4 separate regions of the Homo sapiens genome follow, and regions 1, 2 and 3 are each linked to region 4. Evidence: promoter capture Hi-C in 16 types of primary human blood cells and fetal thymus (Javierre and others, 2016). All regions are on one chromosome and are shown on one strand. Each heading gives the region's core, a stretch centred on a gene start or on the middle of the fragment in contact. The rest is flanking DNA. Distances are from core to core; before and after follow the strand shown. Region 1 holds the start of ZNF613 (zinc finger protein 613). Region 2 holds the start of ZNF582 (zinc finger protein 582). Region 3 holds the start of ZNF616 (zinc finger protein 616). Region 4 holds the start of ZNF382 (zinc finger protein 382).

The links. The method cuts DNA at HindIII sites, captures the fragments that hold promoters and counts their contacts. A CHiCAGO score of 5 or more calls a contact.
Region 1: a contact is called between the fragment with the promoter of ZNF613 here and the fragment with the promoter of ZNF382 in region 4, in 5 of 17 cell types (non-activated CD4 T cells, total CD4 T cells, total CD8 T cells and 2 more). The highest score is 14.7, in non-activated CD4 T cells.
Region 2: a contact is called between a fragment that was not itself captured here and the fragment with the promoter of ZNF382 in region 4, in 1 of 17 cell types (naive CD8 T cells). The highest score is 6.0, in naive CD8 T cells.
Region 3: a contact is called between the fragment with the promoter of ZNF616 here and the fragment with the promoter of ZNF382 in region 4, in 2 of 17 cell types (activated CD4 T cells and non-activated CD4 T cells). The highest score is 10.6, in activated CD4 T cells.

Annotation. Positions count from the first base shown.
Region 1 is chr19:51,925,834-51,932,896 of GRCh38, forward strand. It overlaps ZNF613 (zinc finger protein 613), which reads left to right and starts at 1,639. Exons shown (of 6, transcript NM_001031721.4): 1 at 1,639-1,707; 2 at 3,899-4,063. RefSeq lists enhancers at 659-1,422, 1,278-1,577. The HindIII fragment of the contact is 2,177 bases long and covers 354-2,530 here.
Region 2 is chr19:56,386,336-56,393,766 of GRCh38, forward strand. ZNF582 (zinc finger protein 582) reads right to left here and starts at 7,199. Exons shown (of 5, transcript NM_001320371.4): 1 at 6,885-7,199; 2 at 5,409-5,497; 3 at 4,040-4,166; 4 at 3,666-3,761. The coding sequence starts at 5,417. ZNF582-DT (ZNF582 divergent transcript) reads left to right here and starts at 7,341. Exons shown (of 2, transcript NR_037160.1): 1 at 7,341-7,431. It also overlaps the pseudogene SLC25A36P1. The HindIII fragment of the contact is 1,923 bases long and covers 1,020-2,942 here.
Region 3 is chr19:52,138,049-52,144,732 of GRCh38, forward strand. ZNF616 (zinc finger protein 616) reads right to left here and starts at 1,890. Exons shown (of 4, transcript NM_178523.5): 1 at 1,684-1,890. It also overlaps the pseudogene RPL37P23. RefSeq lists an enhancer at 1,486-1,725 and silencers at 1,846-2,125, 2,136-2,185. The HindIII fragment of the contact is 2,387 bases long and covers 1-2,233 here.
Region 4 is chr19:36,602,070-36,608,582 of GRCh38, forward strand. It overlaps ZNF382 (zinc finger protein 382), which reads left to right and starts at 3,244. Exons shown (of 5, transcript NM_032825.5): 1 at 3,244-3,278; 2 at 5,483-5,553. It also overlaps a transcript of ZNF529 not described here. RefSeq lists enhancers at 2,516-2,655, 3,636-3,695 and a silencer at 3,216-3,275. The HindIII fragment of the contact is 5,073 bases long and covers 1,615-6,513 here.

The DNA.
Region 1 (7,063 bases), core at 389-2,888, about 15 Mb after region 4:
ATCCCACCAGATGAGAAATACCCACAGGTGTGGAGAGGCTGGCCCCCTTCATAAGGTTGTTGAGATTTATCTATGTTGGTGCATGCATCTATGATTTGTTTTTTATTATTGTTCAGTAGTATTCCAGGGTATGATTACACTGCAATTTGCTTATACATTCATGTACTGATGGACACTTGGACTGTTTCCTGTTCAGGGTATTATGCATAAAGGTGCTAAGAACATTCTTGTGAGTCTTTGTGAGGACATATCATTTCATTACTGTTGTATAAGTATCTAGGAGTGGAATTCCTGAGTCATAAGATTCTTGCTTTTATTTTGCAATTCTCCTAAGGAGTCATATAGTTCTGTAAAGCTTTTCACTCTTCACAGATTTGATATTTTAAGTAACACGGTATGTTTCTGAAATGGAGTTTGCATTTTGGGGCATTTTCTATAGATGTATCATGAAGGACACGTGAAAACTCTGTTATAAATATAAACACTCCACTGCATGCAGGAATTTCCTTCTCATTCTTCCAATGGAATTGTCTTAATTTAGGTTGGATCAGAATTAGAATTTACGTTATGATGACTATGTAAATAATATTTATAGGTCAGTCAGGTAGTATCCTATGATTACTTTTCTTGCACAACTTTTTTTTTTCTTTTTTCTTTTTTTCCTCATGAAGGGGTTGCCAAGGCTGTGTAGTGCAGTGGCTATTGATAGGTGCGATCATAGCTCACTGCAGCCTGGAACTCCTGGGCTCAAGCGATCTTCCTGCCTTGGTCTCCCCAGTAGCTGGGACTACACGTGTGCGCCATCGCGCCCGGGCTTGCACAACTTTTCATTCTCCCAGAGTCGCCTTATTTATTCCTTCCAGAATTTTAGGCACTTGGTTCTCCGAAAGCCCCGACGTTAAGATTGACTCCACCTACAGCAGAGGGAAGGCCCTTCTTCTCTCTTAAGGAAAATTCCCGCCTCCCGCATTGGATTCCTTTTCCGGTTGGCTGGTGGCTGCTCTCTTTACCTGCACTGGGCGGTGACCGTGTCCCTCAAATGTAAATGAGGTTCCAGGGGTCGCTGTTTTTTCACTTTCCGTTGACGGGGTGAACAATATCCTCGTACCTCGATTGCCTCTCCACACCCTTTTGGTCCTCAAAAATCTTCCTCTTGTCCTCCACATGTAGCTAGATGCGTTTTCGCGGTATATGACTCAGGGTGCGATTGCTCTTTTTCCTCTGTGGAGAAAGCGTTTTCACTTGTACGGACACCTAAGTGTTAAGATGGCCGCGCCCATTGTGTCATTCCCGTCATTCTTTGTGCAAAGCGGATGACTTTTCTCCCCAGCCCGCTAAGGTGCACGTAGCCATACCATGTTTGTCTTGGCTAAGCTCGACCCTCTGAAAATAAATGAAACTTGGGCGCAGGATTTAGGTGCCAAAATATGGAGTTCTTCACCGTCCCGCGCTATCCCTGAATACTTGGGCAGAAAAGGTCCACTTTACCTTCCGTACGTGCAGGATTCAAAGATGGCTGCCTCCAGTATCCGTGACGAGAGGACGCGAACTTACTACCTCCCAGTCGTCCGTGCTCCGTACACCTGCAACTTCAGACCTTCCTCGGCCGCCGTAGGCCGGCTTGGAGGCTGGGGGAGGGCCCAGAAGTGGAATAATTCAGGAAAGTGCAGGTTCTGGGAAGTCTCGGTGGGTTCCCCGCAAAATCAGGTCTGTGTGTGGGTCTGTCTGTCAGGATGAGGGGAGGAGGGTGTCTGTGGGCGTCCGTTTAGTGCGGAGCCGTGGAGTTTGTGGGGGAAGCGGGAGCAAGTGGGAGTCGGGGTATTGGGGTTGGGGCGTCTCCGGAGTCAGCCCTGAGGGATCCCAGTGGTCGGTGGTCAGAGTCTGTCCAGAGCAACACTTGGAAGTCCGTGATCAGGGTTTGGTGCCTTTGCGGGTCACTCTGTAGGGCTCGGTGATTGAGGACTGGAGTGAGGAGTGGTTTTTGTCAAGGAAAACTGTGTCTGCTTCGGATTCGGGGTTTTATTTTTTATTTTTGAGACAGGGTCTCGCTCTGTCACACAGGCTTGAGTGCAGTGGCGCAATCGTGGCTCACTGCAGCCTCCATCTCCCGGGGCTCAGGTGATTTTCCCACCTCAGCTTTCCCGAGTAGCTGGGACTACAGGTGAGCGCCACCACGCTATCTATCTATCTATCTATCTATCTAATCTGTCTAATCTAATCTATCTATCTATCTATCTATCTATCTAATTTATCTATCTAATCTATCTGTTTATTGCAGAGACGGGGGTCTCACTATGTTGCCCAGGCTGGTCTCCAACTCCTGGCCTCAAACGATCCTCTCACCTTGGCCTCCCAAAGTGCTGGGATTACGGGCGTGAGCCTTCGCTCCAGGCTGTAATCAGGATTTAATATGCGACTCAGTGAGGAGGAGCCCGGGTTCATGTGAACCTAGGTGTGTGGTCCAGGTTTTTGGATTAATCTAAGGGGGTGTGACCATGTTAGGGAGGTCTAGATGTGACAGTCGTGGAGAAGCTTGTGAAGGCTGAAGCCTTGGCAGCCAGGGCATCCTGATTGGTGTGTGTGTTCAGGTCCAACGGTACATTCCCTCTCAGTCCCTTTTAAGTTTCTCTGCAAGGACTGGTTTACAAATCTCATTTGACTTCTCACATCTCTCCTTTCTCTCATCCTGGTAAATAGGAAAGCTTTGGGGAAGATCAAAGATTAATCAAATCTAAAATGGTAAGGTGGCCTGGCGCGGTGGCTCACGCCTATATTCCCAGCATTTGGGAGGCCAAAGTGGGCGAATTGCTCGAGCCTAGAAGTTGGAGATCAGCCTGAACAACATAGCCTGTCTCTCCAAAAAATACAAATATTAACTGGGTGTGGTAACACACGCCTGTAGTCTCAGCTACTCGGGAGGCTGAGGTGGGACGATCACGTGACCCCGGGAGTTCTAGGCTGCAGTGAACTATGATTGAGCACTGCACTCCAGCCTGGGCAACAGAGTGAGACCCTGCCTCAAAAAAAAAAAAAAAAGAAAAGAAAAGGAGAAAAGAAAAAGGAAAAAACAAAACGAAGAAAATGATAAGGTTTCTATTAAAGATTTTCGTTCTTCTTCCTCAGGTTTACTGTGTGAATGTGTGTATACACACACGTAAATATTTTCTTTCAGGTTCTGACACAAGTAAAACATCTCTCTTATCCCAAAATGTGTTCCCCAGTAATGACTTTTGATAAGATTTTTGTATATTTCAATTTCAGTTTTCTATGCTTGATTTTCACAATGCAGATAAGCTGCTGAAACATTGGTATAATTTGCCGTATTTAATTTTACATTATGAACGTTCTTATAGTAAACATATCATCCATGTTTTTGTTTAAAAATTTTTTTTTAAGATTTCTGTAATAGTATACCATCAAGAGGCAAAACTGCACCACTGTGACTTGAATCACTAAGTGTATGGATATATTTAGATAGAATTTTAAGACTTAAAAAGTTCACTTATCACTTTTAAGAATGGGTTACAATTCTATGTTTACCCAAACATGTTTCTCCCTGACCCTCATCAGCACCTTAGTTTTTAATTTTTTTGCAATTGTAAATGGTGTGTTTTTAATTTTGACCTTTCTGTTCTCTTCTAATTTACTCTTACATAGAAGAGCAATTAGTTTAGAAAATATTTACATTGTTTTTGGTCACCTTACTGAACAAACTTCCCTGTTCTCCAGGTTACAAAAACTTTCAAACATATAACATGATTTAAAGAACTTTACAATTGAATACCTGTTTGCCTACCATCTGGATTTTATCATCATTTTATTGTGTTTCTTTTATTACATATCTATCTATATATCATCCTTCTACTCATCATTAATCCACCTTTTTTTCTTTTTATAGAGATGGCATCTCACTATGTTGCCCAGGCTGATCTTGAACTCCTGACCTCAAGTGATCCTCTCTCCTTGGCCTCCTAAAGTGCTGGGATTCCAGGTGTGAGCCACTTCACCCAGCCACATTTATCCATCTTGTAAAATATTGCTTTGTTTTTTGGTGCATTTCAAAGTAAGTTGCAGACATTCATACATTTGCCCCTGAATATTTCAGTAGGTTTATCATAATTAAGTTCTACTGACAGCTTTTCCTAATTACAGGTCTATTAGTCCCATACTGTATAATTCAGTGGCTTTTACTATGTGCGGCCATCACCAAAGTCAACTTTAGAACATTTTCATCACTTAAAAAGAAACCCTGTACCCTTTTGTTACCACTCCCTATGCCCTACCACTAAGTAATCTCTAATCTACTTTCTGTCTCTATAGATTTGCTTATTTTGACCTTTCTGTTTTCTTCTAATTTACTCTTATTTCATTTCATGTAAACGCTACAATATAATATGTGATCTTTTGTGACTGGTTTCTTTCACATAGCATAATTTTTTTTTTTTTGAGACAGAGTCTTACTCTGTCACCCAGGCTAGAATGCAGTGGCGTGATCTCAGCTCACTGCAACCACCACCTCCCAAGTTCAAGTGATTCTCCTGCCTCAGCCTCCCAAGTAGCTGAGATTACAGGTGCCTGCTACCATGCATGGCTAATTTTTGTATTTTTGGTAGAGACGGGGTTTTGCCACGTTGGCCAGGCTGGTCTCAAACTCCTGACCTCAGCTGATCCGCCCACCTCAGCCTCCCAAAGTGCTGAGATTACAGGCGTGAGCCACTGCGCCCAGCCAACATAGTATAATGTTTTCAAGGTTTGTCTGTGTCGTAGCATGTATCTGTACTTCATTCTTTTTTATGCCAGAATAGTATTTCATGGTATGGATATGGCATCTTGTATTTATCCTTTCATCAGTTGATGGACTTTTGGGTTATTTCCCCTTTTTGGCTATTATAAATAATATGCTATAAACATTTGTGTGTAAGTTTTTATTGTTTTTATTTCTCTTATATATAAGCCTAGAAATGGAGTTGTTGGGTTATATGGTATGTTTAGCCATTTGAGGGACTACCAGACTTTTCCAAAGTGGCTGCACCATTTAACATTTCCGCCAGCGATATTTGAGGGTGTCCATTGCCACCATGTACCTACCAACACTTGTTATTTTTAGTTTTTTATTACAGGCATTCTAGTGGGTGTTAGGTGGTTTCTCATGGTTTTGATTTGCATTTCTCTGGAGACTTATGTTGAGCCATTTTTCATGTACTTATGATATACATAACTGAGGTACATGTATTTTTACTAAATATGGAATTGTTAGTATTTTTAATAGCTAGATAGCTCCATTTCTGGATGTGTGTACTTCTAATCAGCCAGTTAATCCTGTTAATAGACCTAAATCCTTTACGTCAACTTTGCATGCATGTGTCGCTATTTCCTTTACAAAAATTTCCAAGGTGGATTTTTGGGTTCTAGTAATATCTCAAATGGAAGTATTCAATGCAAAGTGTTATTTCCAAAATTGTTTAGTCACTTAATACTGATAAAAAAGTATGTCTATTTTGGAATGCTTGCAACTTTTAGATATAAAATCATCAATCTGACTAAAAACTTATTTTTTGTATATGTTCAATTGAATCTATAAAACTGTCACTCTTCCTTAGTCATATAATTTATTTCCTCTTCTCTAATATTGATTATTTATACTTGATTCTTTATCAAACTAACTGGGTAGCCTTTCCAGAATAGTTAAAATAGTGATAATCATCCTGTTCATCTTCGATATTGCTCTTGACTTTAGAGAATGTACTTTTATAGTTTCATAGAACTTTTTTTTCTTCATTCCTAGAACTTCTGTAGGATGTATTTAATTTTTTAAAATGAGGTAAAATTCACAAGACATAAAATTAATCATTTTAAAGTCAACAGTGCAATCGTTCTTAGTACAGTCACAGTGTTGTACAACCACCACTTGCAGCCACTTCACATTCTCCCCTCCAGTAGACCCTGGCAACCAACTATGTGCTTTCCGTCTCTTTTTGTAGAGTGCCCGATTCTGTCGCTGTTTGGGGCGCCAGTTGTAACTGACCATGATTCCTGGTAGACTGAACAAAGCGGGGCAAACGAGGGAATAAAAGACAAAAACAAAAGAGTATATTTGGAAGAAGGGGTCAGGGGGCACCTTGCCTCTAGTGGATAAGGGCTCTGAGCTTTACACAGCTCTCCGTATTTATTAGGCAAAAGAGATAGAGAGAAGGGGGGGTGATTGTCGAGTAATTGTCAGTCGGCCTTTTGGTTCACAGCAGGCTTGTGAGATTGCATTCCTTGAGCAATAGCCTCTAGATGTCCCCATAGATAGCCTCCAGGAGCCCAGCGCCAGGGAATGGTGGCCCTCAGCAAAGCTGGGGCAGGTACAGAAGCGAGTTTGCCCACATTCTGTACTCGTGATAAACAGTTTGCTGTTTGATCATGTACTCTCCAGTGGAATGCTGAGTTGGTCACGATCCCTTTGGCCTTTTCGGCTCCCAACATCTTTTTTTTTTTTTTTTTTTTTTTTGAGACAGAGTTTCACTCTTGTTGCCCTGGCTAGAGTGCAATGGCTTGATCTCAGCTCACTGCAGCCTCTGCCTCCCGGGTTCAAGCAATTCTCCTGCCTCTGCTAGGATTACGGGCATGCGCCACCATGCCTGGCTAATTTTGTATTTTTTGTAGAGACCGGGTTTCTCCATGTTGGTCGGGCTAGTCTCGAACTCCCGATCTCAGGTGATCTGCCCGCCTCGGCCTCCCAAAGTCCTGGGATTACAGGCGTGAGCCACCGCACCAGGCCAGTGTGCTGTCTGTATGCATTTACCTAATCTGGGTATTTTATATAAATGAAATCATATAACGTGACATTTAGTGTCTGACATTTTCTTTTTTTTTTTGAGACAGGGTCTCACTCTATTGCCCAGGCTGGAGCGCATTGGCACACTCTTGGCTCACTGCAAACTCTGCCTCCTGGGCTCAAGCAATTCTCATACCTCAGCCACCCTAACAGCTGGGATTATAGGCATGCACCACCATGCCTGGCTAATTTTTGAACTTTTTGTAGAGATGGGGTTTCCTCATGTTGCCCTGGCTGGTCAAG
Region 2 (7,431 bases), core at 731-3,230, about 20 Mb after region 4:
TTTTATATCTGAAGTTTAGTTGAACGCCATGGCTGAAGCCCATTATCAACTGAATGACATTTCTTAAATTTCTTAAATGTCATGCATTTACCTGAACCTTTTCATTTCTTAAAGGTGACCTTGGAAAAAGAAGGGCTTTTTTCCTTGTTTAGAGGATTAGGCCAGTTGATTGAGGGTGGGTCCTTCTAGAGCAACATACTTTGCTGATTATTCAAACTGCATGAAAAAGCTGAATGCTATAATGGACTGTGATTCTACCTGGTACATTATTTCAGCTACAGTGGCAGGTTTTACTGTACTTATAGCAACCAACCCCAGTTGACTTAAAGAGACTCAGATATAGCTTGACTACAGGTGGGCACCACCATGCTCAGCTAATTTTTGTGCTTTTTTGTAAAGATGGGGTTTCGCCATATTGCCCAGGCTGGTCTCAAACTCCTGGGCTCAAGCAATCCGCCTGCCTTGGCCTCCCAAAGTGCTGGGATTACAGGCGTGAGCCACCATCCCCAGCCTCAAAGTACTTTTTGCTGAGAATTTGATTCTGTCCTAATTTGCTGAATCATACATCATAGATTCAAGGTGATGTGCTAACAAGGATATCATTTTTAAATGTTGCCATGAAGTTCAAATGCACCTTTTCATACTTTAAATTGATATATGTATATAACCCTTAAACGTTTATGTTCATGATAATTCTGTTGAGACTTCTGGCTAAGGATGTTGCTATACTGGTATATAAAATGTGCACAATTAAACTCCAGTGTGATACTACTCATTTCAGTATATATGAGTGCTGTATTTTGTGCAGTAGCTTTATCTTAATATGGCTCTTTGTGAATGCACTTTATAGCATTTATTGAGGGTGAAAGAGCAGGAGGGAATTCTATGTTACGTATTTCTATAAAAACATTGGTCATTTATTCAACAGAACCAGTATTCCTAACATTTGTCTGGGTTTTAGATATGTTGTTCTGCAGATCTATTCACTGTAGTGATCCCAACATTATTGAAAATTACCAAGCTTTTACTGCTCTCACCAGTGAAAAACTGTACCTTCTTAAATTCTGTCAGCATGTCACATTTATTGTAATCAACAGTAACTGGATGTTTCTGAGGTGTTTTGATTGGACTCAAAAGTATTACAATCAGTTTGGAGACAAAAACACAATCTGCATTTTAGTTTAAGTATGACACTGATGACTTAAAAAAAAACTATATACAAACGTTCTATATAAAGTTTGCCTCCAAAGTATTTCTCTTTCTCTTTCTTTTTTGCAGGGGAGATGGGGTCTCATTCTGTTGCCCAGGCTGGAGTGCAGAGGCACAATCATATTATACTACAACCTCAAACTCCTAGGCTCAGGTGATTCTCCTCTGTCAGCCTTCTGAGTAGCTGGGACTACAGGCATGAGTTATTACGCCTGGCTGCAGAGGGATTTTAATATGTAAAAGTATTAACACAGTGTATTAACTTTGTGCCCACGCAAATCTCTTTTCTATCACATCCTTATGTTCTTCGACAGATTGACTTTTATGCTTCTCCTTTTAGAAACATAAAATTGTTTTATTCTTAGTTTTAAAAAACATTTGAATGTGTACCCTTGCTTATGCGAAGATTTATGACCTACTAGTCATAGCTAAATAGTCAACATTGTAAGAGCTGATACTTTTTGGTTCATGTGAGGTTTGGCATTCTTGCATTTATGTACACGGATGTCAATTGTGTGGACTTCTTCTGTATTTATGTTAACTAGCTTTTACTGAATTGTTGAAACTAAAAAAGTTAAAAACGTGCTTATAAAAAAAGGGGGGGGGGATTATGTCCAAAGAACCCAGGAGCCAGTTTGAAAGGGTGTCACTGGGCAAGTCTGGAAAACTATGAACGTTGTGATAAATAATGATAATGGGTAATAATCTGTTACAGGATAAAACAAGATTTATTTTATTCTGACCTGGAAATGAGAAAAAATATGCCACCTACTATTAATCCATATGATATAAATGAAGAAACAAATGGTGAAAGGGAGAAAGCTCTTCTTTACAGGAGTATGTGATCTAATAAATAAGAATAAAGTTTTTTTAAAAATCACTATTTTGTAACTATTAATCATATCTGATCCAAGAGAAAACTATCAATGACTTCTGAAACTAGCAGGTGAATAATTTGTGAGAAGCACAATATTTATATCCTCTCCAGGTGGACCATAAAATCATGGCTTGCCTCTATTTCTACAGTGCTTTCCCTCTGCCCACAGTGCAGAACCCAAACTTCATAACGTGGTTGCCTTTCCTAGCGTATCTTTTTTTTTCTTTTTGAGACAGAGTCTCTCTCTGTTGCCCCAGCTGGAGCGCAGTGGTTCGATCTCGGATCACTGCAATCTCCGCCTCCCGTGTTCAAGCGATTCTCCTGCTTCAGCCTCCCAAGTAGCTGGGATTATAGGCACGTGCCACCACACCCGGCTAATTTTTGTGATTTTAGTCGGGACGAGGTTTCACCATGTTGGCCAGACTGGTCAAGTGATTTGGCCGCCTCAGCCTCCCAAAGTGCTGGGATTATAAGCATGAGCCACCATGCCCGGCCCCTAGTGTATCTCTGTGTTCCTCCCTTTGCTCACTGACCTCAGCCACAAGGGCCATCCATTATCTCAGAGGTACCAAGGGCTCCCTGCTCAGGTCCTTCACACTCATTGGCTACAACTGGTATTCCCCAGCTACATCACACCTTCCATGTCTCAGCTGAAATGCCTTATCCTTGAAGAGGCCATTGGCCCTACCATGCACCCTGACTGAACCTGTTCTTTTTCTTTCACATATTAGCTCATGTCCAGTGTGTATGATTTCATGTCTATTTTCCCACTGCAGTGTAAGTTCCATGAAAGCAAGGATAATGTCCACCTGCCTCATCAATGTATACTGTGGCATATTCCATGGTGCATAATAAAAGCTTAATAAGTACTTGTTAACTGACTCCAGAATTCAAACAAACCGATACAAATTCCTTTAGAAAAATGGTCAAAGGACAAGATCATGTCCTTTGCAGGGACATGGATGGAGCTGGAAGCCATTATCCTAAGCAAACTAACACAGGAACGGAAAACCAAATACTGCATGTTCTCACTTATAAGTGGGAGCTAAATGAGGACACATGGACACACAGAGCGGGACAACACACATGGGCCTTTCAGAGAATGGAAGGTTGGGCGGAGGGAGAGAATCAGGAACAGTAACTAATGAGTACTAGGCTTAATACCTGGGTGATGAAATAATCTGTAAACAAACCCCCATGACACAAGTTTACCTATTTAACAAACCTGCACTTATACTCCTGAAGTTAAAAAAAATTTTAAATATTAAAATTAAAATTAATAAAAAAAGAAAAATGGTCAAAAGATACAGACATCTTTCCAAAGACAAAATACTTTCCTTAGGAACCACCATATTTGTACTCAGTCTAGCCCTATAATCCAGGTTGAATTTTTAAAGTGTTTCAGGAGGAAGGAGCAGCCACCTTTGTCAAATGCTGCTGACGAGCTGAGGAAAACAACACGTAAGACATAAGCTTTGAAGGTAGCAACCTGCAGGGAAGATCTTCTAAGACAAAGGGCCACTTCCAGCGGACCTGATACCTGCAGTGGCTGCTCCCTTCCCAATGATACCTCACTCACCTGGACACAGGCCTCCAGACACCACTCTCTCCACCATCCAGGGCTCTTTGCCTTGCTCTAGGAAGGAGATCACATCAGGTTTGGAAACGGCAAGACCTGGAGATGAGAAGAAACATGCCACCTGGTTATGGTGTGGGGGCCCCAGAATTCAGATCCAGGACCTGGTCATCAAGCAGGAGAGGCAGTTGCAGGAAGTGCCAGAGGAAGATGGGACAGTTGCCTGGGGGTAGGGGGATGCAGCTTCAGCCGACAGCGCCGCCCTTTAACCCCTCAAAAATGACCAACCAATCATAAGACTGAAAAGCACCCAAAAACTGACCAGGAAGGAACATGCCCAAGGATAACCTCCAAACTAACAGACGAGATCACCTTACCCAGTGAGACCAGGTTGCTGTAGGTCTCCAACATCACGTCTCTGTACAAATCCCTCTGAGCAGGTGCCAACCACTGCCATTCTTCTTGGGAGAAGACTATGGCCACATCCCTGAACAATTCTGACCCCTGGAATGACAGGCATGTATGATATATATGTATTTCAATGGTTCACAGTGGGATGAAAGGAGATGGGGCAGGTCTTTGCGGGAGGGGGGGTTGTTTTGTTGAACAAGAAGGGTGGGACTGAATGTGAAAGGTGACAGAAGAAATGGGGATGAGTAAAACAGAATGATCAAATTGTTCTCAAACATTCCTTTTAACTGCAAATCAATGCTCTGTGTACAGGTCTGGGATGAAAATTAAAATCAAGCTAAATGGAGTTTTCCTTATTGTTAAGAAACAGTGTAATAAAGCACACTGCCCACTCTATACTTGGCATACAATAAATTCTCAAGGTGAGACCTATCACTTCTATCTTTTGGAATAACAATAACAACAAAAAATATTTCTGATGGATTTTCCCCAAATATTTTATTTTTTAAAATTATGGAAACATGTTTTCTATCTTAGATACAGGATTTTCATGTAAGTCAAGAATTTCTTGGAGATGAAAGTTCATCATTATGTTGGAACATAACACAAGCATTTTTCTTCATGGGAAAAACCATGGAGATAACTTTTATTGAGTGCACAATTTTCTATCAAGTGAAACAACTGACTCAAACATCCTCTTATTTTGGATCCCGAGGTTGGATCAGATCTCTAAGGCTTTTCCAAGCCCTGACCACTCACCCACCTAGATGATCATCTCACTTGCTACATCGCTCACCATCCTCAGCTCTGTACTTTTCTTCCTCTTAAGCTAAAGAAACTAATGGAGGATGTCCCAGATTCAAATGCTCTGTCCAACGTCAAACTAGACTTTAATTCTGGCATCAAATTTTTGATGGATTCCCAGCCAAACCTCAATTACATATCCAATCATTAATCATTCCCAAAGCAGGACACTGTACCATGCGCTGAAACTGAAACCAACCAACACCACCTCCCCTGCTTTTCTATATGTGATTGCTCCTAAGCATTCATTCCATCTCTTCAAACTTCAGTTCTTACAAAGGATGCTCTCATTTCATACAGGGAAATGAGTTTCTCCTCCTAGCAGACGAAAACCATCAGGAGATGCAGAATGCTATAGAGAATAAATCTGTGGGCATTTGTCAGAGGGGAGAGGACAATGGGAGAGGAGACTCCTGCCTGGTCCTTTTATTCCCTAAAATGGGAAAGTCTGAGAACCAAATTTCTGGATGGAACCCAGGTGGAAAGTTTCAAGATAAGGAAAGCAAATATTTATGGGATTTAAAAACTCACAAGGGACATGACTTTTAGAATTTCAAGGGCTGATAGGTCCTCCTTCTGGTTCCTCTCTTGGGGAAGGGCAGAGTCCTGCGACGGTAGAGCTGGGGGAGGAAAGAGCAAACATGAGAGGCTAGGCTTGCCTCACAGTTCCTAGAATGCCAAGTTACAAGTCCCCACCTGCTTGCCCTCTGCCCACCAAGAAAATGAGAAGGAGGGGGAGGCAAAGGGATCCTCACCCAACCCCAGGAAACCAGCTTTAGCTGCTGCAAGGCAAAGGGGAACCAGTGGTCCTTTCCCTCCCATTTCCCCTAAACATCCAGTGGTTCTGTTTTGCTGCAAATGCAAGTCTAAGACAGGGATGCTGAGGGCTGTTCTAGTGACTGAGACCCACATGTTACCTCAAGGACAAGGAGGGCTTCCCTCAAGCCAGGGAGCATAGAAGGCCTGCATCATTTGCATAGCCCCAGCCTAGAATAAAGCCTTTCCAGGACTAGGCCATTTAACTCTCTCCTGCAGCAAATATAACACCTTTGAAAGTCTACCTGGCTCTTTTCCCAACCGCCAAATATACAAAAAGCTCTACAGCCCAAACTGAGGCTTTGTGCATGCCACTTCATGGAGCATGCCTTGCATCAACAAATGGGATAGAGTTGGAAGGAACAGTAAGAGACAAATTACACACAGCACGCCCAGTGCTCCATTATCAGCACATAAATGTGTCCTTCCATAGAGACACAGCAGTGCACAAAGCTGCATGTCCAATAATATTTGCTAAATAGGAGAACTGAAAATTAGTACGTAAGTAGGCAAGTCCACAAGTAGCCAAGAGGTTGAATCATTTTTGGCACAGCCATATAATGGGATGCCAAGTGACTATCAAAAATGACTATCAAAAACTGACAAGCAAAGATATTAACTACTGAATCCTTTGAGAACATTCAGCAAAAAGAAGTCAAACTCACTAACACACAGGCTAAAAACAAAACAAAACAAAAAAATTGGAAGAAAAAACACCCAAGTATTCGCAGTGTTGTCATTTAACCAGTTCTTGAGCTCACTGTTAAACAAGAAGTACTCTGTAAAGGAGTATATAAGGTGCCTACTGCATTACAAACATTTGGTTCTAAGTAACGTGTAAGTGAAATAATTATGAATGTTGCTTAATATGATGTAATAGGCAGCTTTTCCTTATTATGACCACTTTTATAAGCATTATTTGTATTAACTGCACGATATCCTATTTACAAAGGATGGCCTGTGATCCACTCAAGTGTTTCCCCATTGCTGGACATAGAATTTGAACATATAAAATGTTCCCAAGTATAAGTTTTTCTAAACTAGCGGTTCTAAGTCTTCTGGGGTCTTGTAACTCTCTGAGAACCTCATGAAACAAGATTTCCTCTCAGATTAAAAAAAAAAAAAGGCACGCATAACAGTGAATGCAAAACATCCGCAATTTCAGGGGGTCGGAGACCCCTGCGCACCCACCTAAGGGGTCCATGCACCTGGGCTATGAGGCTGGAAGCAGAAAGGGGGCGCCAGAAAGCGCACGCCGCGAGGGCCGGCGGGAAATGTAGTCTCACGCCGGTAAAGCCACAGAGCGACGATGAGGCGAGACGTCTGCGTTCTTCTCAGGCCTGAGACCCAACCGGCCCGGGCACCAGCTCCTGCTGGACCCCAGAGCGCCTGGAAAGCTCCGGAACCTCTCACCTGCCGCCTCCTCGGGTCCAAGTGCCACCGCGGCCGCGCCCCCGGCAGCCCAGGGCGCGCTTCCACCACGGTACCGGTGGATTCGCCGTGCGCAGCCGGAAGATGGCGCAGACGCACAAAGCACACCGATGCTGCGCCATGATAGGGCCGGCGCCGCAGTGTCTTCCGGGAAACATAGTCTTTAGGCGTAAAGGCAGCAGCCCGGCCTTGAAGCCGGATCTCGCGATGTTTCAGGGTGAGCCGGACGCAGGCGTGCCTGCGCAGTGCGCGGAGGAGTGCTGTTCGTGTGTTCGAGTCCCTGGGTTGCTTCCTGGGGTCTGTGGTG
Region 3 (6,684 bases), core at 640-3,139, about 16 Mb after region 4:
AGGGGCTGAGGAGGATGGAGTGCAGCTGAGAGGCTGCAGTGAGCCGATATAATTTTACCGCACTCCAGCCTGGGCGACAGAGACCCTGTCTCAAAAAGAGAAAAAACAAACAAAAAACCAAAGATACATCTTGTAGTGACAGTCAGTCATTTCTTGCCTATTTCTCTCCTCCTCCATCCTCTACTCCCTCCCTGGAAAGAAGAGTTACAAAATGACTGAATCAAGTCACTGCCCTGTGGCTAAATAGGGATTCCAAATATCTTTTGATATAAACAAATACAAAATGCACAAGCCTTGTAGAAAAGAGTGGTAATTTTCATCCTCATGAGTACAATTTAAAGAAACAAATTTTAAATTAGAGTATAAAGTCACAAATCAATACATTAAAACCACCATCCATATCCAATCAACTCACAGCTCATCTGGGTGGGGTCCTCGCCCACTCTCTTCACTACTATGTGTTTCCCGCTCTCATTCTGCACGTCTTTTTTCCCTTTGCTGTTTTTCTCCCCTTTCTTTATTCCCTCTTTTATGTCTATTCTGCCCAATGCTTCGAAATTTATTTCACCTCTTGTTGCTCTTTCTCCCCAAACTTTCCCATTGTCCCCAGCCGCCACGTATTCCTGCCTCTTTTCCCCCATCTGAGCTCCCTGTCTGCTCTCCCTGTTAAAATCCCTCTTCCCTGTTAAATTCCCTTTTCCCTGTTACATCTCCTTTGTTCCCACTCTCTAGCACCCCCAACTTCCTAGGCTTCCTCCTTGCTGTGGTTCTCCCTCTACTCTCCTTTGTTACCCACTCCCCTCTCCTTCAGTCCCAGCACCACGTGGCTCTGTCAGCCGCGGCTCCGACTCTTACCTTTTCCGCCCCCCGCGTCTGACTGCAGTGCCTCCTCCTTTGCCGCCCCTCTCTATTTTGCTGCCCTTCAGCTCCCTGAAGCTCTCCCTTTTCCCTAATTTCTTTATGTGCTTTTCTCCCCGTGCTACTTTCTCCATGCGTCCTCTTGCACTCTTGCTCTCTTTGCCAGTACCTAAATTATCATCCATTTTGCCGTGTACTCATTCTTTTCTCCCCAGTTTTTCTTTCTGTCCCGTCGCTCCCCCTCTTTTCCTCTCCTGATCCCTCTCACCCACACATTCAGGAGGAAAGGGGAGGAATACGATGCCCACCTCCCGGAAGAGCACATTTTCCAGTGGAGTAAAAATTTGGGAAGGAACGACAGTGGGTGTCACAAGACAGACTCGGGTGACCTCCTGCAACGCGGAGTCAGGAAAAGCAGTGGCTGTGAAGGGGCAGCCTGGGGAGGGGAAGGACCCGGCGTGAGGAGGACACTAGGTGGCGCGCGGAGGACACTAGGTGGCGCGGGGGACGGTGTCTCAGGACAGGGAGGGTCTGCAGAATCCCAGGACCTGGGAGAAGAAGCGGCTCCTTCAGGAGCTGGGCAGCGGGCGCTCCCCTCCAGGCGTCGACAAGGGCGAAGCTCGGGGGTCTCGACTGGTGGGAATCCACCTCGCGAGGGAGGACTTGACTTCGCCCGGGGCCGAAGCAGGGGTCAATGAGAGTTTTAAGCAGGAACACGACCTGAATGGGGTTATCGACATGGTTATCTACATGGCAGAAAGGCAGGGGGCAAGGAACAGCCTGAGAGAGATTTTAAACCGACAGGGAAGCAATTCTCGGACTTACGTGGGGAGAAGTGCCTGTTGCAGGGGCGAAGGGGCTATGGGTATTTTAAGGTCCGTAGCGATCCCCAGATCACTGGTACGGAGAAGTGAGGACTGCAAAGTGCACGTTTAATCCAGGCAGACGGAGCGAAGTAATGTTTAATCCACGTAGACTGAAACACACACACAGCGATAAGGCCTTTCCCTGGCGCAATCTGCTTCCGGGAGTGACGGAAACTGCTAGCGGAGAGAAAAAACTGGGAGGCCAGGGGGCGGGGCCTGGGCGAGCCGCGACCAGCAAGGGGCGGGTCGGAAAGAGGGGCCTGACTCGGGGAGGGACCCTGAGAGGGTGGAGCCGGGCCGGAGCGGCAGTGGGCGTGGCTAGGTGGGGCGGGACGGAGCCGCGGCGGAGGATGGGGCGGGGTTTCATGGGGTAAGCGGGGCCGAAATAGAGCCTGTTATTTACTCTGGTTCACAGGCAGCATGTCTTTGGTTTTCTGACTACTTCTTGTCCTGTGAAGCAGCGTTGCTGCCTGCCTATTTTAAGTTAATGTTTCAAAATTTAAGGTTAAAGCTTAAAGTTGTGGTCCACTTATATTAGAAACTAAGATGATTTCTTAACAAGTTGAACTAAGTCAAAACCGATTTTTACAAGCTTGGTGGACTCCATCCACTCTTGCCGATGATGCTGAAGCTACTCAATAGTCAGGGAACTAGGATCTCGCTGGGGATTTGATGTGGAGCCGTGGCTGGATCCAGGAACCCGGAAGACATTATGCCAAGCGAAATATGCTAGACACAGAAAGACAAATACTGCCTGTGCTTTTACACGTGCAAAGTACAAACGTCAAATTTACAGTAACAGATTAGAAGGGTGGTTACCAGGGCTGGGGGATGTATCCTATGCCTTTATCACCATTATATTTTGGAAGCAGATAACTTCTCTGGCCTCACAGATTCACAGCTGGGCAGAAATTTTGCCTCAGGATGAATCACACCTTGATTCTCACCCATGTGTGGTTCAGATAATATTTAGGGGGTATTCTGCCCTAAGAGCTGATACAGGAATGGATTAAGACTTTTGAGAGTTGATACTGAAATGGATTAAGTCTTTTGAGATGGGCCAGCAGTTTTGGAGGCCCAGGTGGGCAGGTCACTTGAGCTCAAGAGTTCAAAACCAGCCTGGACAGCATCGTGAGACCCCCATCTCTACAAGAAATACAAAAAGTAGCCAGGCTTGGTAATGCACTCTTGTAGTCCCAGCTACTTGGGAAGCTGAGGTGTCAGAATTGCTTGAGGCCAGGGATTTGAGATCATCCTGGGCAACATAGCCAGACCTCTCTACAAAAAATTAAATTATCTGGACATGGTGGCCTGCACGTGTGGGCCCAGCAACTCGGAAGGGTAAGGAAGGAGGATCATTTGAGCCCAGGAGGTGAAGGCTGCAGTGAGCCATGAGAAGAGGAGATTTGGTTGGGTGCAGTGGCTAACGCCTATAATCCCCACACTTTGGGAGGCCAAGGTAGCAGGGAGCTAACTTGCATTCTTCTGTTAGCTGAGGCGTTTGATGATAAATGAAAGCAGAAAGTTTGTGACTTATTTACGTTCTTTCCACAGAAAGGCCATATGTCCTTGGCCATAAAGAAAAAGAGACCTACAGCTTATCTGCTTCCTCTATTTTTTTTTATATGTTCTGGACCATGAAGAAAGATTTATAGCTTATTTGCTTTATCTCTTTGCTTTCTCCTGGTCCTTTCAGGCTGACTCCTTTTCCCCAATTAGGGCTCCACAGACTCTACCCTCAAAGGGCATTTTTTTCTCACCCTCCTATAAAATCCCTCCCACAAATAAACCAGGATCCTATTTCCCAGCATGAAAAGTTTGTTGGAAAAAAAACTGAGGCTGCATGGGACCTTCTTTCTCTTCTTCAAAACTACTTCACCTCTTCTCTCTTTTGTCTCTCTCTTCCTAACTGCCCTGCACAATTCTAGGTCCCCAGTGAATCCTTGGGTTGACATGCAAGGGAAGAACCCATAGGGAAAGGAAATCTCTGGCTTTCAGAGATAACTTTTTGGATATCTGGATGCATTCATAACCATCCTTGTGTTACCAGAAAGGGGTCCTGATCCAGAACCTGAAACTTCCATTGCACAATTATAACTGAGAAAATTATTACAGTGAAAGAGATCTGACCTAATCAACTCCATCTTGCTTTTAACCTCCAAGCTGCTCTTGTTCATTCCTGGGCATAGGCTGAACTAACTTTGGAAGGAACTTAGTTTATAGTTTGAAACAAAGACATTAACAGCCCTTTCCCAAAACAAACCCCCTTCCTGCTTGGGGACTAGACTGCCTTTGTAAGACTAACAAATTAGGCACAAGGTGAGAGATGATGGTTTAGGAGTCATGTAGCTGGAGGCTACAAGATTCTCACCCTTCCCAGATTGTTCCTGGGGATAACATTACTATTATAAAACCTAAGATCAGTGCTTGAGATATTTTGCATTCCCTGCACTTGATGGATCACCTGACACCAACCCAGATCCATAAACTGGCTCATCTGGTCTTGTGACCCCACCCAGGAACTGACTCAGTGCAAAATGACAGCTTCAGATCTCTATGATTTCGTCTCCTACCCAACCAATCAGCACTCCCGACTCACTGACACCTACCTATCAAATTATCCTTAAAAACCCTGATCCCCGAGTTTTCAGGGAGACTCATGTGAGTAATAAAAAAATTTCAGGTTCCTGTACAGCCAGCTCCACATGAATTAAACTCTCTCTTGCAATTCCCCTGTCTTGATGAATCAGCTCTGTCTAGGCAGCAGGGAAGGAGAACCTGTTGGGCAGTTACAACCAAAAGGGAGGGTTCTTGGATCTCATGCAAGAAAGAATTAGGGGTGAGTTCACACTGTAAAGTGAAAGCAAGTTTACTAAGCAAGTAAAGGAACAAGGCAGGGTGCAGTGGCTCACGCCTGTAATCCCAGCACATTGAGAGAGGCTGAGGTGGGCAGATTGCTTGAACCCAGGAGTTCAAGAGCAACCTGGGCAACATTACAAAACTCTATCTCTACAAAAAATACAAAAATTAGCCAAGGGTAATGGTGTGCACCAGTAGTCCAAGCTAGTTGGAAGGCTGAGGTTGGAAATTGCTTGAGCCTGGGAGAATTTTTTTTTTTGAGGCAGTGTCTGGCTCCGGTCACCCAAGCAGTAGTGCAGTAATGCCATCTCGGCTCAGACTCTAATTCAACACGGAATGTTGAGCTTCTGAGCGTGATATAGCGGAAGTGCCTTCTCTTCCGGTCTCTCTGGTCTTGGCCGCAGAAGCCAGATGACGAAGGGAACGTCATTGTTTGGAAAGCGTCGCAATAAGACGCACACGTTGTGTTGCCGCCGTGGCTCTAAGGCCTACCACCTTCAGAAGTCGACCTGTGGCAAATGTGGCTACGCTGCCAAGCGCAAGAGAAAGTATAACTGGAGTGCCAAGGCTAAAAGACAAAATACCACCGGAACTGGTGGAATGAGGCACCTAAAAATTGTATACCACAGATTCAGGCATGGATTCTATGAAGGAACAATACTTAAACCCAAGAGGGCAGCTGTTGCAGCATCCAGTTCATCTTAAGAATGTCTATGATTAGTCATGCAATAAATGTTCTGGTTTTAAAAAATACAAAAAAAAATACTGAATGTTTACTCCTGAAACTTATGATGCCTAGGTTGAGAAAGACTCAATTTTCCTCATGCTAAATACTTTATACATGTCCTTTATTCATGCATACATAGGACACTTTACACAATATAATTGTTGAAAGTGCTTCTGAAATACTGTTCAAATTGTCTATAATATTTTTACACATGCACTATAAAAATTAAATTTATCAGACAATAAATATTAAATAATTTAATAAAATTGCATTTTTCAAAGGCTCTAACAATGCATATTTGAGTTATCATATTAAACATTGTATTCTATGATTTTTCAACTGTAATATAATTTTTTTTGAGATGGGATCTTGCTCTCTTGCCCAGGCTGCAGTGTGGTGGTGCAATCACGGCTCATGCAGCCTCCACCTCCCCAGGCTCAAGTGATCCTCTCACCTCAGTTTTTGTGTTTTTAGTAGAGATGGGGTTTTATAATGTTGCCTAGGCCGGTCTCAAACTTCTGGGCTCAATCTGTCCACCTCAGCCTCCCAAAGTGCTAGGAATACAGGCATGAGCCACAGAGCCCAGCCAAAACTACATTTTAAAAATAATTTTTTATCATTACACACTCCACTAGAAACCATTTAACCCAATTTATGGACTTACATTTCTTCCATTGAAGAACTTGAAGGATCCAAAAATCGAGGTGACATTCTCAGATTTGTGTGGCAAAAAAAGAATAGAAAAATAACAGATGCAAAGAATGTGTTCCACCAATATGTGGAGGATCCCTTTTATTTTAAGTTCAGGGAAAGCATTGGAATGATACAAGAAAATAAACTGAAATTGTATAATGTGGAAACAAGAGCTCTGTTGCTAATATGCAAGTTTATCACTGAGATTTTAACAACACAACATGCTAATTATACCTTAAAATATGTTTCTCCCAGTCTGGGCAACATGGCGAAACCCCATCTCTACAAAAAAATCCAAAAATTAGCTAGGTATGCTGGTGTGCACCTGTAGTCCCAGCTACTTGGGAGGCTGAGAGAAGAGGATCACCTGAGTCCAGGAGGTGGAGGTTGCAGTGAGCTGAGATCGCACCACTGCACTCCAGCCTGGGTGACTGAGCGAGACCCTGTCTCGAAATATTACAATATGTGACAGCGCAGCTTCCATCAGAAATAATTTGTTCCTCTTTTGCCCACACAAAATATTCACCTCCACTTCCTCTAACATTTTTTTTTAAAAAAAAAAGCCCAAACATAACTTTCAGTTGCAAGCAAGGATCTCATGACAGTCTCATGACACTTCTGTTCACTGAGAGCCCAATAGAGTCCTCGTCACTCACGACATTTCATGGTGGAACAGAAAAA
Region 4 (6,513 bases), core at 1,994-4,493:
GATGGATTCTCACTGTCTCCCAGGCTAGAGTGCAGTGGCGCGATCTCGGCTCACTGCAACCTCCGCCTCCCAGGTTCAAGCAATTCTCCTGCCTCAGGCTCCCGAGTAGCTGGGATTACAGGCATATGCCACCATGCCCAGCTAATTTTTGTATTTTTAGTAGAGATGGTGTTTTGCCATGTTGGTCAGGCTGGTGTCGAACTCCCGACCTTGTGATCCACCCACCTTGACCTCCCAAAGTGCTGGGATTACAGGTGTGAGCCACCGCGCCTGGCCACCTCCACAAATTTTTAATTGCCAAAATCCAAAACTTTATTTATGGACACAAATTTAAATTGCATATAATTTTCACATGTCATGAAATATTACTCTCCTTTTTTTTTTTTTCGTGGTCAACTATTAACAAAAAGTTAAAACCAATCAGTTCACAAGCCATACAAAAATACAGGCTACAGGCTGGATTTGGCCCACAGGGCCATAGTTTGCAAACCCCTGTTCTAGACCCAGAGACCATTATACCATACTCACACAGTCTACACAGTTATGTGACTTGGGGGAAAAAAAGAAAAAAACACCTGGCCGGGCACGGTGGCTCACGCCTGTAATCCCAGCACTTTGTGAGACTGAGGCAGGTGGATCACCTGAGGTGGGGGGAGTTCAGGACCAGCCTGATCAACATGGAGAAACCCCGTCTCTACTAAAAATACAAAACTAGCCAGGCATGGTGGCGCATGCCTGTAATCCCAGCTACTCGGGAGGCTGAGGGAGGAGAATCGCTTGAACCCAGAAGGCGGAGGTTTCAGTGAGCCAAGATCGCACCATTGCACTCCAGCCTGGGCAACAAAAGTGAAACTCCGTCTCAAAAGAAAAAAAAAAAAAAACACGTGATGCGGCCAAACCTCATGCAAGAACTAGCTGGTACCATATAAATCTCCTAAGGTATCCCCTCGGAAAAACTTCCTGCCCTTCTTAACAGCTCTCTCTGCACATACTCTGCAATAATATTCTAACTCCTAAGGTCCTCTAAAACAAAAAAAGTTACTATAACCATTCAAACGATCTCCTATCTTGCTGTTTTTCCACTCATGTCTCTGAAGAAAATCTAAACTATCTAATGTGTAATTCTACCTAAGCAATTGGTCTCCTCCGTAACAAATCACCGTGTGAAGGCAGACTATTTCTATGTCATGAGAATGCTTAAACAAAAAGAGCACACAGGAGAAGTGAACATACTGTCAAGGTGTTATATGAAAATTAACTCTAGGAAGGGCATCTGATGAGGTACTGGAAAGAAGGAGATCTGTCTTCATAATGTCATCAGTAACTGGGAAGAGAAGGACTAGAGACCAGGTAAATAGATAAGTCACTATTTGGTGAGCATTTCAAATGAAGTTATTCCACATCCTGAAAAACAAAAATGCATTTCATAAAACAAAGAAAAAAATCAAAATGACCTCCAGCTTTGCTTTAAAATGTGCAACTACAATGCTTTTCTTCTCTCAGAGCTCTTCTCTTGGAATACAGCAAAATGTGGAAAGAAAGGGAATCACAATATACTCAGCCTTTCTTGGAGCCCAGACAGGCTAAATAAGAACACATTCTTCACCACCGGCAAGCTTCCATAACCCATGCTGAATATGACCAGATGGAAGTATGAGAAAGACTGGAATATTGTTGACTCTTCCCTTCATAAAGAAAAGTCAGGTTCACCAAAGCCTGGGACTGAAATGTTTCTGTATTCACAATAATTTCCTTTAGACAGCTATGAAAATGCTGTGGATCTGCAATATTCAACTTGCCCCCACAGAGCTTCCAAAAGGGATCTTTTGGCTAGGCACGGTGGCTCACGCCTGTAATCCCAGCACTTTGGGAAGCCGAGGCGGGTGGATCACCTGAGGTCAGGAGTTCGAGACCAGTCTGACCAACATGGTGAAACCCCGTCTCTACTAAAAATACAAAAATGAGCCGGGCATGGTGGTGCATGCCTGTAATCCCAGCTACTCGGGAGGCTGAGGCAGGAGAATTGCTTGAACCCGGAAGGCGGAGGTTGCAATGAGCCGAGATTGCGCCACTGCACTCCAGCCTGGGCAACAAGAGCAAAACTCCATCTCACACACACACACAAAATCTTTGGAGAAACGAATCCTACTCCTGGGGCCTCAATATCATATCTTCCCAGAACCTTGCCTTGGGAGCAATTCCAGCTCTAACATCTCCATATCAAACACGAGGCTGTGCATATCAGAACACAGCCTTGTCCATGTGAAACACAAGGCTGTGCTTTTTCAGTTGGAAACTTCATTCTGGATCTCAAATATCCAACTTTCTTTTCGATAGCCATTTGACTGCACACTGTGCAACGTGGTTATAAGGTGAAATGACTGAGGCAGTGAAAGAAATCCCAGTATAACAAACTCCAAGAAACCACGTAACTTAAAATTGGCCCCAGAGGTTGGCGAGGCTGCATGCCACTGTGTATTATGCATTATGAAAGCGACAGGGGCCATGCTTTAGAACAGAAGGTCTCAGAGTCTTCACAGACACAGATCGAGCCATACGGGGACCTTGTCCACGTATTCCTGAGCCCCAGAACTGCAGAAATCAAACTCTACAAAAGCTGCACCAGGCCAGTTTTGATCACAGTCTCCAGTGGGTCACAACAGCGCTGTCACAGGATCACTGATAACAGCATGACACATTCATAGTCACCGCTCAGCGCCGTCACACAAACGGCCCCGCCCCCACTCAGTCCCGCGGGCCCAATCGGGGACAGTCAGGGCTGTCCCGGGCTGTGCACCTGCTGTGCACACACACCCCCTGCTGTGCACACCCCCCGCCCCCCCGGGACCATCACAGGCGCGCCCACTCACACCACCACACACGGACGCAGCCACAGAACGGCACACACAAACACAATCACACAGTCTCCCTCCCCAGCAGGTGACTTGCACACAGGCCTGGGGCTTCTGCCTCCACAAACCCTCTCCGCGTCCCATGAACCCAGGTCCCCTGCCGTGAGCTCTTCTCGCATCCAGACCCGGGTCACCTCAACTCACCACATGGAAAACGAACACCAGGTCAACGGAAAAGGGAGCCGGGGTCCTGGCAGAAGCGTAGTGCCAGCCGCAATAGGGCGGCCGTGGGTGCAAACGGAGGGGAGCGCCGGCAGCTAGCACCGCGCGGCGACTAACGGGCCGCCCCGGAGACTCCTGGGAGCTCAGGCCCACGCGCGAGTGCGCAGGCGCAGACGACTCACCCTGGGCCGGGGGTGAGGCTTGGTGGGTGCCAGGGGTGCTGAGGAGGCCAAGGAGGGCACTGGGAGCTCCGTTCCGGGAGAGCTGTCTAAGGACGCGGAACCGGGTGGGGAGGCCAGGGAGGTAACCAAGAGTCCGAGCCGGGCCTGGAAATTCTGAGGAGGAAACCGGGACCGCGGTATCCAGACGCTCCGATCTGTACGAGCCGGGCCTCGGGCGTGGTCCATGGGCGTGACCTTGAGGGTGACCCGGAGCGAGCTCCGCGAAGGGGGATTTTGCCCGTTCTGATCCCGCGGAAGCGCCATCGCTGGCGGCGGGTCCCCGCGCGGAGCGGGCGCTGTGTGTTCGCGCGCGCGGGCGCGCGCTGAATAGGGGTGGCCTCCTGCGCCCAACCTGCTGCATTTTAGGTGCTTGCCTCTCTTTGGGATGTTGTGGCCGATTGTGTGTGAAAAGTGAACGGAGTAGTGTTGCTGCGCGAGGTTTCCTCTGCGTGTGTCTATTTTTAGATTAGGTGTGAGTCGCATTTGAGACTGCCTTTGAGTGTGGAGAATTGCAAGTGATTTGTAGGTGTGGTTGTGACTGCCTGGAGTCGTGTTAGCTGCTGTCTGAGGTTGTGAATGACAAGTGGGGCCTGTAGGTTGGTGGTTCTCTGAAGGATGTTTGATTGACTGTGACTCTGCATGTGTTTGTAACCTACTGTTACTTCTGGTGGTTTTGTGGCCTTAGTGACCTAAATATTTGAATGATTGAGGAACTCTGTTATGACCATGGCTAGTTGGTTATGTAAGACTTGATTATCTGAATAGTAGCCATTAAGCCTGCCTCCAAAACTGTAACTAAGTAGCAATTTAGCAAATAAAATAGAGATAACAGTATCAGAGGGGAAGAGATGATTTTCATAATTCCCAGATTCATTTCCTGGAAACACCATATTAACTAAAACCAGTATGTTGAAATGAATAGCATTCCATTGGGGACATGCAGGAAATTTTTTTTTTTTTTTTTTTTTTACCATAACTACCACTTTTGTTGTTGTTTTTTGTTTGTTTTAAGACAAGGTCTTGCTCTTTTGCCCAGGCTGGAGTGTAGTGGCATGATCTCTGCTCACTGCCACCTCTACCTCTGAAGTTCAAGTGATTCTCCTGCCCCAGCTTCCTGAGTAGCTGGGACTACAGGCTTGTGCCACCACGCTCGGCTAGTTTTTGTATTTTTAGTAGAGATGGGGTTTCACCATGTTGCCCAGGCTGGTCTTGAACTCCTGACCTCAAGTGATCCCCTCCCCCCGCCCCCTCGGCCTGCCAAAGTACTGGGATTACAGGTGTGAGCCACTGTGCCTGGCATAACTACCACTTTCAACACTTGTATATGAGTGAGGTTTCCTACTCCCTTAGGCTTGCTAAGATAATAAAAAGTATTTGATAGATTTTTAATAAGTCCAGTCTCACTGTAGTAATTAAAATAGTTATTTTGCGGGCCTGGTGCAGTGACTGATGCCTGTAATCCCAGCATTTTGGGAGGCCAAGGTGGGCAGATCACCTGAGATCGAGAATTCGAGACCAGCCTGACCAACATGGAGAAACCCCATCTCTACTAAAAATACAAAATTAGCCGGGCATGGTGGTGCATGCCTGTAATCCCAGCTACTCAGGAGGCTGAGGCAGGAGAATCGCTTGAACCCGGGAGGTGGAGGTTGCGGTCAGTCAAGATTGTACCATTGCACTCCAGCCTGGGCAACAAGAGTGAAACTCTGTCTCAAAAAAAAAAAAAAAAAAGATTATTCTCAACTACAACATAGACCAGATAGGCAAAGATTTAAAAGTTGTCAACTGTCTTCATCAGGGCTTGGGAAGGTATTCTCATCCACTACTATCAGTGTAAATTGGCAAAAAGTCCAAGAAGAACCGTTTGGAAATACACAGTAAACCTGTGGTTAGAGGTAGATGGAAGGCAGAGCTGCAGAGGGAAAAACACAGTGTTCCCTCTCTTCAAGCTAAAACAGGTTCCCCAGAATCCTGTATACTTTACCAAGAGACTGGGTTTCTGGTGTTTGTGAGGGAGCCTGATTTGTCTGTTTTCCCACTAACTACCATCCTGGACATCTGAAGGGTACACAGGGTGGACAAGTGCTGAAATAGTGAACATTCATGCAGATTTAACTGAGTTAATTCTGGGAGTTCTGAGTCAAGTATGGTCTCACATACGTATATCCTCCATCTTTGCTTTCTCAGGACTGTTTCTTTTTCCAAAAGAGGAGCTCAAAAGAGAAAGTTCATCTAGAAATCTCAAAGCCATGTCTCAGGTGAGATGATGTTTCCTCTCTTTCTGAAATAACTTTTTTTCATGGTGTATGAACATGAGCTTCACTGTCCTTTAACCTTCCCTGATATTGGGATTTGCTTCCATGAAATTAGTCTTCAGTCAGGGCCAGATTAGGCTGAGGCAGGCAAGTGGCATGAGGTGAAATATTTAAGGGGTACCCTCAGGGCTGTGCCCTCCTAAATTTTGCATTCTAGGTGCCTCACCTGCCTCACCCTGTATCCAGCCCTGTTCACAATTTCTCCATTCCAACCAAATCAACTTAAGCCTTCCCCAAGTGTACCTTCTGGTTGTACATATTCATTGGGTATATCATTCATCATCTCCTTTCTCAGTCTTCTCACAAACAAACTGCTGGAATAGAAAGGTATTGTCTTGATTTAAATGGGAATATATGGCTTGAATGAATTTAACTTGTCCTGATGCTGATTTGAGACCTAAGCTGTGAGTAGTCATGGAGCAGACGTGGAAAAACCTTGATGATCTCCGCTAGCCTAGGTTTTGCAATGGTACGTTGGGAAATAGAAGTGGTAGATCCCAGCATTAGTTTCTGGAAAGATGTCCTGCTTTGTGAGGTGTTTAGGATAGCAATTTGATTGCAGGCTTGTAAAGGAAACACGTTTTATGTTCCTCCTCTCTGATCTTTTTTCATTCATGTCTGCTAGCCATTCCTACAAATTGTGGGCTGCCAGTGAAAACCTTTCCAGTATTCCAATGCTGTTAGAGATTTGTTATTTTCTTTTTAGTTTCTTCTAATTTTTTATTTGCGGGTGCAGGAGAAGGAAATCCATATGCCAGGCCACTTTTGAAATATTCTATTGTTGATCAAACAGTACTTTGTCCTCTTTTCATATCTTTCAGAAAATTCCTCTTTAGCTCATCCACCAACCTTTAAAATACTGGTTTTCCTCAGATGCTAATTGGTTCTCTTCTTCTTCACAGT